Regions from separate parts of the Homo sapiens genome. Here region 2 is linked to region 1. Evidence: promoter capture Hi-C in 16 types of primary human blood cells and fetal thymus (Javierre and others, 2016). All regions are on one chromosome and are shown on one strand. Each heading gives the region's core, a stretch centred on a gene start or on the middle of the fragment in contact. The rest is flanking DNA. Distances are from core to core; before and after follow the strand shown. Region 1 holds the start of ZNF583 (zinc finger protein 583). Region 2 has its middle 18 kb from the start of ZNF331.

The links. The method cuts DNA at HindIII sites, captures the fragments that hold promoters and counts their contacts. A CHiCAGO score of 5 or more calls a contact.
Region 2: a contact is called between a fragment that was not itself captured here and the fragment with the promoter of ZNF583 in region 1, in 2 of 17 cell types (non-activated CD4 T cells and naive B cells). The highest score is 10.4, in non-activated CD4 T cells.

The regions. Positions count from the first base shown.
Region 1 is chr19:56,403,026-56,406,742 of GRCh38, reverse strand. ZNF583 (zinc finger protein 583) reads right to left here and starts at 2,411. Exons shown (of 5, transcript NM_152478.3): 1 at 2,291-2,411. RefSeq lists a silencer at 2,178-2,387 and an enhancer at 2,848-2,987. The HindIII fragment of the contact is 8,045 bases long and covers 1-3,717 here.
Region 2 is chr19:53,518,345-53,522,386 of GRCh38, reverse strand. It overlaps a transcript of ZNF331 not described here. Among named protein-coding and RNA genes, the nearest start is that of ZNF331, 18 kb to the left of the region's middle. RefSeq lists enhancers at 341-1,114, 1,425-1,624, 1,115-1,888, 1,889-2,663. The HindIII fragment of the contact is 293 bases long and covers 1,110-1,402 here.

The DNA of each region.
Region 1 (3,717 bases), core at 1,162-3,661:
ATCCTGGCTAACACGGGGAAACCCCGTCTCTACTAAAAAATACACAAAATTAGCCAGGTGTGGTGGCGGGCGCCTGTAGTCCCAGCTACTGAGGAGGCAGGAGAATGGCGTGAACCCAGGAGGCGGAGCTTGCAGTGAGCCAAGATCGCGCCACCACACTCCAGTCTGGGCCACAGAGCGAGACTCTGTCTCAAAAAAAAAAAAAAAAAAAAGAATACAACATACCTGTTCTGTGTTTAAGTTACCTCCCCATTTATAATTTAAAACAAAAACAGCAATTACAGAATGGTATTACCAAGCAAGGATTTCCCCCTCTTTCACACATGAAGGCTCTTCATCGGAGTAATTATTCAAGGCATCATGGTAATAATTAAGCCAAACTGGAAACCAGTTCTAACTTTTAATTCTTTCCACCCGATCATGATGTTGAAAGGAAATATGTTCCCACCCTTTCTGCAAGGATGACAGATAAAGCTACAAAGTGAAATTTCTCAGAGAAAGCATCTCTATACACAGAGTGAGTATCAGAGGGTCCATGTAGTGTGGTGGACACTCGATCAAAGAGTCAAGACGGCCTACTTCTGGTCCTGGCTTATGACAACCCACAACTGAAAACTAATCTCTTGACTTTTCTGGGCAATCTCCTCAGACAGAAAGAAGGAGAGAGGGAGGGAGGAGCAGGCTATGCTTGAACAGTCATCCAAACCCCCTATGGTGAATTCTTGTCCAGCAGACCTCACTGCCTTGAAGAATAAAGCCATTACCTATGAAGTGGCATAACTCAGTGGTAAGAACTACTAGGCTTAAGGATCAGAACACCTGGTCTCAAACAGCCAAACCACCACATGCTACCTATACAACCTCTGGCAAGTTAGGTAACCACTGCAAACCTGTTTCTCTATCAGTGAAATGGTAACTATTCCCTATCAATTGTTGGGAGGATTCTGAAATGATCTACATAAAGCATTGAGCACAGTGCTTAATTTTCATCTTTCTGTCATTTATTTTCATAACCAGCACATGGTAGGTCTCCCATTCCTTTTTCCTTTTAAATTCCTCACGTGCCCCCAGAGACTGAGAGGGATGGAAAAACTACTGTGCCAGAGGACAAGCAGCCAGCGTGGTCAGCTTTTCAGGCTTAAGGCTGAGGCTCCTGTCTGTCTCTCCCTTTTCAGCTCTCGTCCCTCCCTTTCTCCATCTTTTCCCCTTTATCTCAATCTTTCTGTCTCTCCACCACAACAGCAGTCTCCCAAACCCCAGAGCACACCAGCATCTCCAAGCACCCACACAGCTTCCTGCCCACACAAATCACAGACAACAAACCACATAGTTTCTCATTCTGGCACCTCCCCTGGCAACCTATGGACATGCCCCCACATTGTAGCCCGCCCTGCTCTCACAATGGGTCATATAAGGCCATTCTCAGTCACACTGTCACACTCACTGTCGGGATGACATACAGTGCTAAGTCACACCATCTCCCTCAGTCTCACATAATCACACACACTGTCATGCACAATCTCAAACACTGTCACATACAATCTTAGTCCAACAACAAAAACTCTGTTCACATACAGTTTCACATACAGTGACACAGTCTCACACACTGTCACACAAATTCTGTCGCAGTTTCATGTGGTCCCATATCAACAGCCACACACCGTACACAACCACACATAGCCTCACACACGGTGACATGGTCTCACATACTGTCACAGTCTCATCTAATCCTACACACACGGTCAAGCTCTGTTCACAAAGTCACACACACTGTCACACAGTCTTACATTATCCCACACACACAGGTCACACACACAGTGACATGGTCTTACACACTGTTCACACGTGGTCTACACATAATGACAGTTTAACACTGTCACACATTCCCAGTCTCACACATGGTGACGTGGTCTTAAGCACATACAGTGTCACACAGTCCCACACGGTCCCATATACTGTCAAAGGCTCCCGCATACACCGGGGCAACGGTCTCATACTGTCGCACACATTCTCACACCCAGTCTCATACTGTCACACATAGTCCCACATTTGTCCCACATGGTCTCACACTGACACACATATTCACACACGGCCTCACATTCTCACACTGTCACACACGGTCTCAAATTCTCACACAGTCACACATGGTCTCACACACGATTCCACACTGTCAAACACATTGTCACACACGGTTCCTTAATGTCTCACACATTCTCACACACTGTCACACACGGTCCCACACATGGTGGCATGGCCGCTCCCGGCGTCAGCTCCATCCCGCGCTCCTCACCGCCTCCTCCCTCCAGTGGGCACCTCCTTCGGCGCGGTCCTTGGAGGCCGGGGCTGGGCCAGGGCCCGGGCCAGGGCTCGATCCTGGCCGGCGGCCGCGCTCACAAAGGCGCCGCAGCCCTAGGGCAGGCCGCAGGGGCCGCTGGGAAATGGAGTCCGGGGCCGGCGCGGCGCAGAGGATGCTGGGATGTTGGCCGAGGGCCCCGGGCGGCCGCAGATCCCGCCGCTCAGTTGCGGGTAGTTACTGCTGCGCCCCTTTCCCTAGTAAGCCCACCTCCGCTGGCCTTCAGAATCCCACCCGGACCAGCTGAGCCCTCTCAGGCCGTTCGACTGTCCGCTCCCCCACCCGTTCCACCCGTTCCACCTGCGCAGGCGCAGCTGGTTCAGGTCCCCAAAGGCTGCCAGGCCGGGGTGCCAGCGCGGTGAGGCGCACGCGCAGTGACCGCGTCCGCGCTCCAGCGCTCCGGGTGGGGCTGTGAGTCCATCGCTGAGAAAAGGGAGCTGGAGGACCAGTGTGGAGCCTGAGCCAGCTGGAGAGGGGCCCGGTAGGATGTACGTGTGATTAAGCGCTCTGGCGGCCCGGGCTTTCTCTTTCCCTTTCTGTTTCTTCTCTCTCCGCCTTGCCCTGTCTTTCATTCGCCACTTATTGAGCGCCTGCTGTATCGGGCACTGTCGTGGGCCCTGGGCACACAGCAGTGAACAAGCAGACAAAATCCCCACCTCATGGAGCAGCATTCTAATGCGGGAGGAATTCAATAGGAAAAAATTAATAATAAAGGACACTGATGCATATTGGGAAGTAATGCGTATTATCAAGAAAAGCGAAGCAGAGTATTAAGATCATTCTTTCAGTTCTTCATTCTTTCAGTTATGCCCTCTGAATCAGTGGAAAAAACGCAAGGTGCATTTTTTTCTATTATCTCAACGACAACTAATCATAACAGAAGACTTTTCTGACCAAATATAGGGGAGTTTCCCACACATCTCAAGCAAGCAATGAGTTCAGTGAGTTCTGCAGCGGGCACCAGCTGGGTGTCCTCCAGTTTAATTCCGACGCCGTCTACTTGGAGATGGGTCAGACACCATTCGCTGAGGGCTCAGTCCCCAAGCCTGCCTCCCCCTTCCCACTTCCCACTAAAGTCTAGCCTCTGGAACATCTGACTCCACCACCTTCAAATTGGGATTTTCACCACCCCCTCTTTGCGGTTCGATATTTTGCTAGAGTGGCTCACGGAACTCAGGAAACACTTATGTTTACTAGTTTATTATAAAGGATATTACAAATGATATAGATGAAGAGATGCGTAGGGCAAAGTACAGAAAAAAGGGTGTTGCACCTTCCAGTAACCTCCACATGTTCAGCTGGGTGGAAGCTCTCTAAACCCTGTCTTTTGGGAGTTTTACAGAGGCTTCATTACATAGGCATGG
Region 2 (4,042 bases), core at 7-2,506, 2.9 Mb after region 1:
CGTGCGCCTGTGGTCCCAGCTACTTGGGAGGCTGAGGCAGGAGAATCGCTTGAACCTGGGAACCGAGATCGCACCACTGCACTCCAGCCCTGGGCGACAGAGCAAGACTCTGTCTCAAAAAAAAAAAAAACAAAGAAAGAAAATAGGGCACACTTGTCCCCAGACCACAGTTAAAATCAATCAGAAATAAGAGGGCACAGGCATGTGAGTTTTTCAGAGAAATGCTGGAAAACTCTAGGAACTGGGGTTCTGAAACATGGAGCTGCCCCTCTCACCACCTCCCCGCCTCCCATGTCAGGTACCTCTTTCTTCCCCAAAAGGAATTCTATTCTTGAGGTTACTTCCTCTTGTCGTCCAGGTAGTGTGCACGGAGAGCACTTCTGGCTCCAAAACTGCCATCTCGTGACTTGTGAAGCCTTCTTCTTGGTCATTTTCACAATAGCGTAGAGCCTCTCACGTCACTTTGGGACCACTGCTCCCTAGCAGGTACCACATGGCTGGAAGGCCAAGGCACAGGAAGCAACGGAGACACTAGAAAGACAGGTGACATGGTCGCACACACCTGTGCTCACTCAAAAGGCCATGCACCCAGGCCCGATCCCGACCAGTCACAGCCGCACACTCGCTGGCCCTTTCACACCCACAGACGCTCACACCAGAGGGACACTGCCTGTCCCTGTCAACCTGACAGAAGTGCAAAGGCACATTTCAGAGACACGGAGACCCGTCCTGGCCGTGCCACCTCTGCAGACCCCACCAGCATTGACCTCGCACAGAACGGAGGTGCAGAGACACAGCCCGGCTGCGTCACCCCTACAGATGCCCTTACAGCCCGGCGCTATGGCCCTCATAGACGTCTACACACACCTGTGTCACAGTTTATGGGGACAGAGCCCGGCCGCGTCAACCCCGCATGCATCACGGCTTAGGGGAACGGGGCTTGTTCGCATTACCCCACAGACGAAGACAATTATCTCAGTCACTGGGCCACGGCGGGGCCCCACCAGGCAGCCTCTGGCTTATTCACACACACACACACACACACACACACACACTCACACACACTCCCACTTCCCTGCTCGCCGCTCCCGAAGCCTCAGGCCGAAGCTTCTTCATTTTAGGGCCTCCGCGTCCCGAGTGGCTCCCTCACCGCCATTCCCCGCGGAACCCTGCCCTGGCTTCCTCCTGGGAGGCAAATAGCTCCCGGCTCGAGGCCTAACCACACCCAGCACATCAGGAGGTGAAACAAGGTCTCAGGCGCAGTTGGGATAAGATCCAGGAGAAACCATTTTTAAAAATCCCGCGAGCATGAAGCACGCCCCTCAGCCGGCCACCCGGCTCGCTCCTCATTGGACTGTGCCCCAAGGCCCTCTGGGAAATGTAATGCGAAACCAGAGAAGCTTCGACGCAGCTGGAAGGGCGCCCGTCAGTGTTTCCCAGCATGCAACTCTACACGGCGCAAATGGAGCCGTGACCCAGAGGCCTCTGGGAAATGTAGTCCATAACCCGGAAATCCACAGAGTTGGAAGCGGCTGTCAGGATTTCCCAGCATGCAACTCTACGCGACCCTAAGGGCGTCCTGCCTTGAGGGCTTCTGGGAAATGTAGCTCATAACCCGGGAATCGACGTATCTGGAAGGGCGCCCATCAGTGTTTCCCTGCAGGCAACTGCACACGGCCCTAATGGAGCCATGCCCCAGAGACCTCTGGGAAATGCTCACTACGCGGGAATCCTTAGCGCTGGAAGCGCGGCCGTCAGAATGCTTTTCGTCGGTGTCTCCTCCCACTGTTAGAGCAGCTGCACCCCCCATAGACTTCTGGGAAAGCGTATTTCAGACTGGCAGAATCTTCAAATGCTGGAAGCCCTGTCGGCCTTCTCCTGCCCTGAAACTTTGCTTGCTCCTAAGGCGCACCACAAAAAATTCCTGGGAAAAGTGGTTCAGGCTCTAGGGGCCTACAGTTATAATTGCTTACAACTTGCATTTGGGATCCGTCCATAGGGAAGGCGTGTCCCCGCGTCCTTCTGGGAAGGAAATGTAGTCTGAAACGACCAGAAATCACGCCTGTAATCTCAGCACTTTGGGAGGCCGAGGCGGGTATATCACCTGAGATCAGGAGTTCGAGACCCTCCTGCCCAACATGGTGAAACCCCATCGCTCTAAAAATGCAAAAATTAGCCAGGCGTGGTGGTGTGTGCCTGTAATCCCAGCTACTTGGGAGGCTGAGGGAAGAGAATCGCTTGAACCCAGGAGGCAGAGGTTGCAGTGAGCCGAGATCACACCACTGCACTCCAGCCTGGGCGATAAGAGTGAAACAATGTCTCAAAATAATAATAATAATAATAATAAGCCCGGAAAGCTTAAAAGCTGTGATTTGGGAAAAGTTCAAAAATTTCCCAGCATGCAACATGGCCCTCCTTAGAAAAGAGCTGTGCCTCCAGAGCGTTCTTGGAAATACAGCCCCGAGCTGGAAATGCCTCTAGAAAGTGTTAGGTAGGGTGTTTACATGTGAGATTTTGGGGACGTTTCAGCACTGCCCTTTCCCCCACCCCCCAGTAGATTGGGGAGCTCCAGGCATGTGTGTAGGGACCTTGAGTAGGTTCCACGGGAGTGACCTGGTCCTGACTGGGTCTGTGCCAAGGCTCTCTCTGTAAGGGCAGGACTTTGCGTTTCGTTCTCTGATGCTGTCCCAGACTTGGGAGCACTGCCTGGCTCTTCAGATGTCTCTGTGAGTGTTACCTTGGTATGGGCGGGAGAGGCCTGGGCTGTATGGCTTGCTGCCCGGCAGGATATTGACAAGATGTTCTTATGATCAGGCGGTTTGGCCCTTTTTCCGGTGGGATCTCATCAGGATGTTCCTTGGACCTTTGCCAAGAAAGATATGATAGGGATGGTTTTTGTAGTTGGGCCTTTGCCCAGTAGGACATGATGAGAATGTTTCTTTAATTGGGTCTTTGTTCGCCTTGTGGTCAGGTGGTTAGGCAGGATATTTCTCACTGCCTGAACCCCTGTGAAATGTTTCACTTTGACCAAGGTCTGCAAAAGAGCAGGGGGCTTCCGAAATGGTGCAATTTAGACAAACACTGGGGTGTGAGATGCTTTGCCCTAAAAAATATATGCTGTTGTTGGGAGAGAATCATTGGTGGGTGTGACTGGATTTGTGATTGTGTGGACTCATCAGGGAGCCTCCTGGAGCTCAGGTAAGGGAGGGCGCCTGTGAGGTTTTTGGCCTTCATTATGACATGGATGAGATTGTATGTTTCTATGAACGTGTGGGTAAGACTACTGTATAGAGTACCCTTGACATAAGTAACTCCATCTTAGAAAAAGACTCCATCTTGCATTCCACAGGGCACTTTGCCAACAGGGACAAGATGTTTTGCTTAATAAATAAATAATAAAGACTGCATCCAACCAGATAAGGATATAAACAAGCACATTCTTCCACCATCTGTCCTCCCCAGAGGACTCTGTGGCCATAAAAGGAGCAAGGCTTCAGTGGCTTGAAATAACCATCTTAACTGCAACCGTCCTGCTGTCATTTGTGATGAGCACTTGGCATCTGCTGCTGAAGCCTCAAAGACTTCTTGCAAGACCAATGGGCCTGCCCAGCCCTGACCAAGGGTTTTGTTACTCTCCTTGGACTGACTTGTTAACCCTTTTCTCCTATCTCTTTTCTCTTGATGTTAAACATTACTTTGTTTATTGTGAAATGTTTAATCTATAACATTTATATATATTGATTAAGTACACTACTATGTATGGTTTGCAATATTGACTGACTTGTGAAGTGGCTTGAGCCTGCGTGTCTATGGCTCTGACTACCAAGTGAAGGGGCAGTACCAAAGAGAATTGCCTTGTATTAGTCAGGGTTCTCCAGAGAGACAGAACTAATAGGATATATGTCTATAGGAAAGGAAGTTTATTAGGGAGAATTGGCTTAGACGATCACAAGGCCCAGTCCCATGATAGGCCATCTGCAAGCTGAGGAAAAAAGAAGCCAGTAGTGGCTCAGTTCAAGTCCAAAAGCCTCAGAAGCAAGGA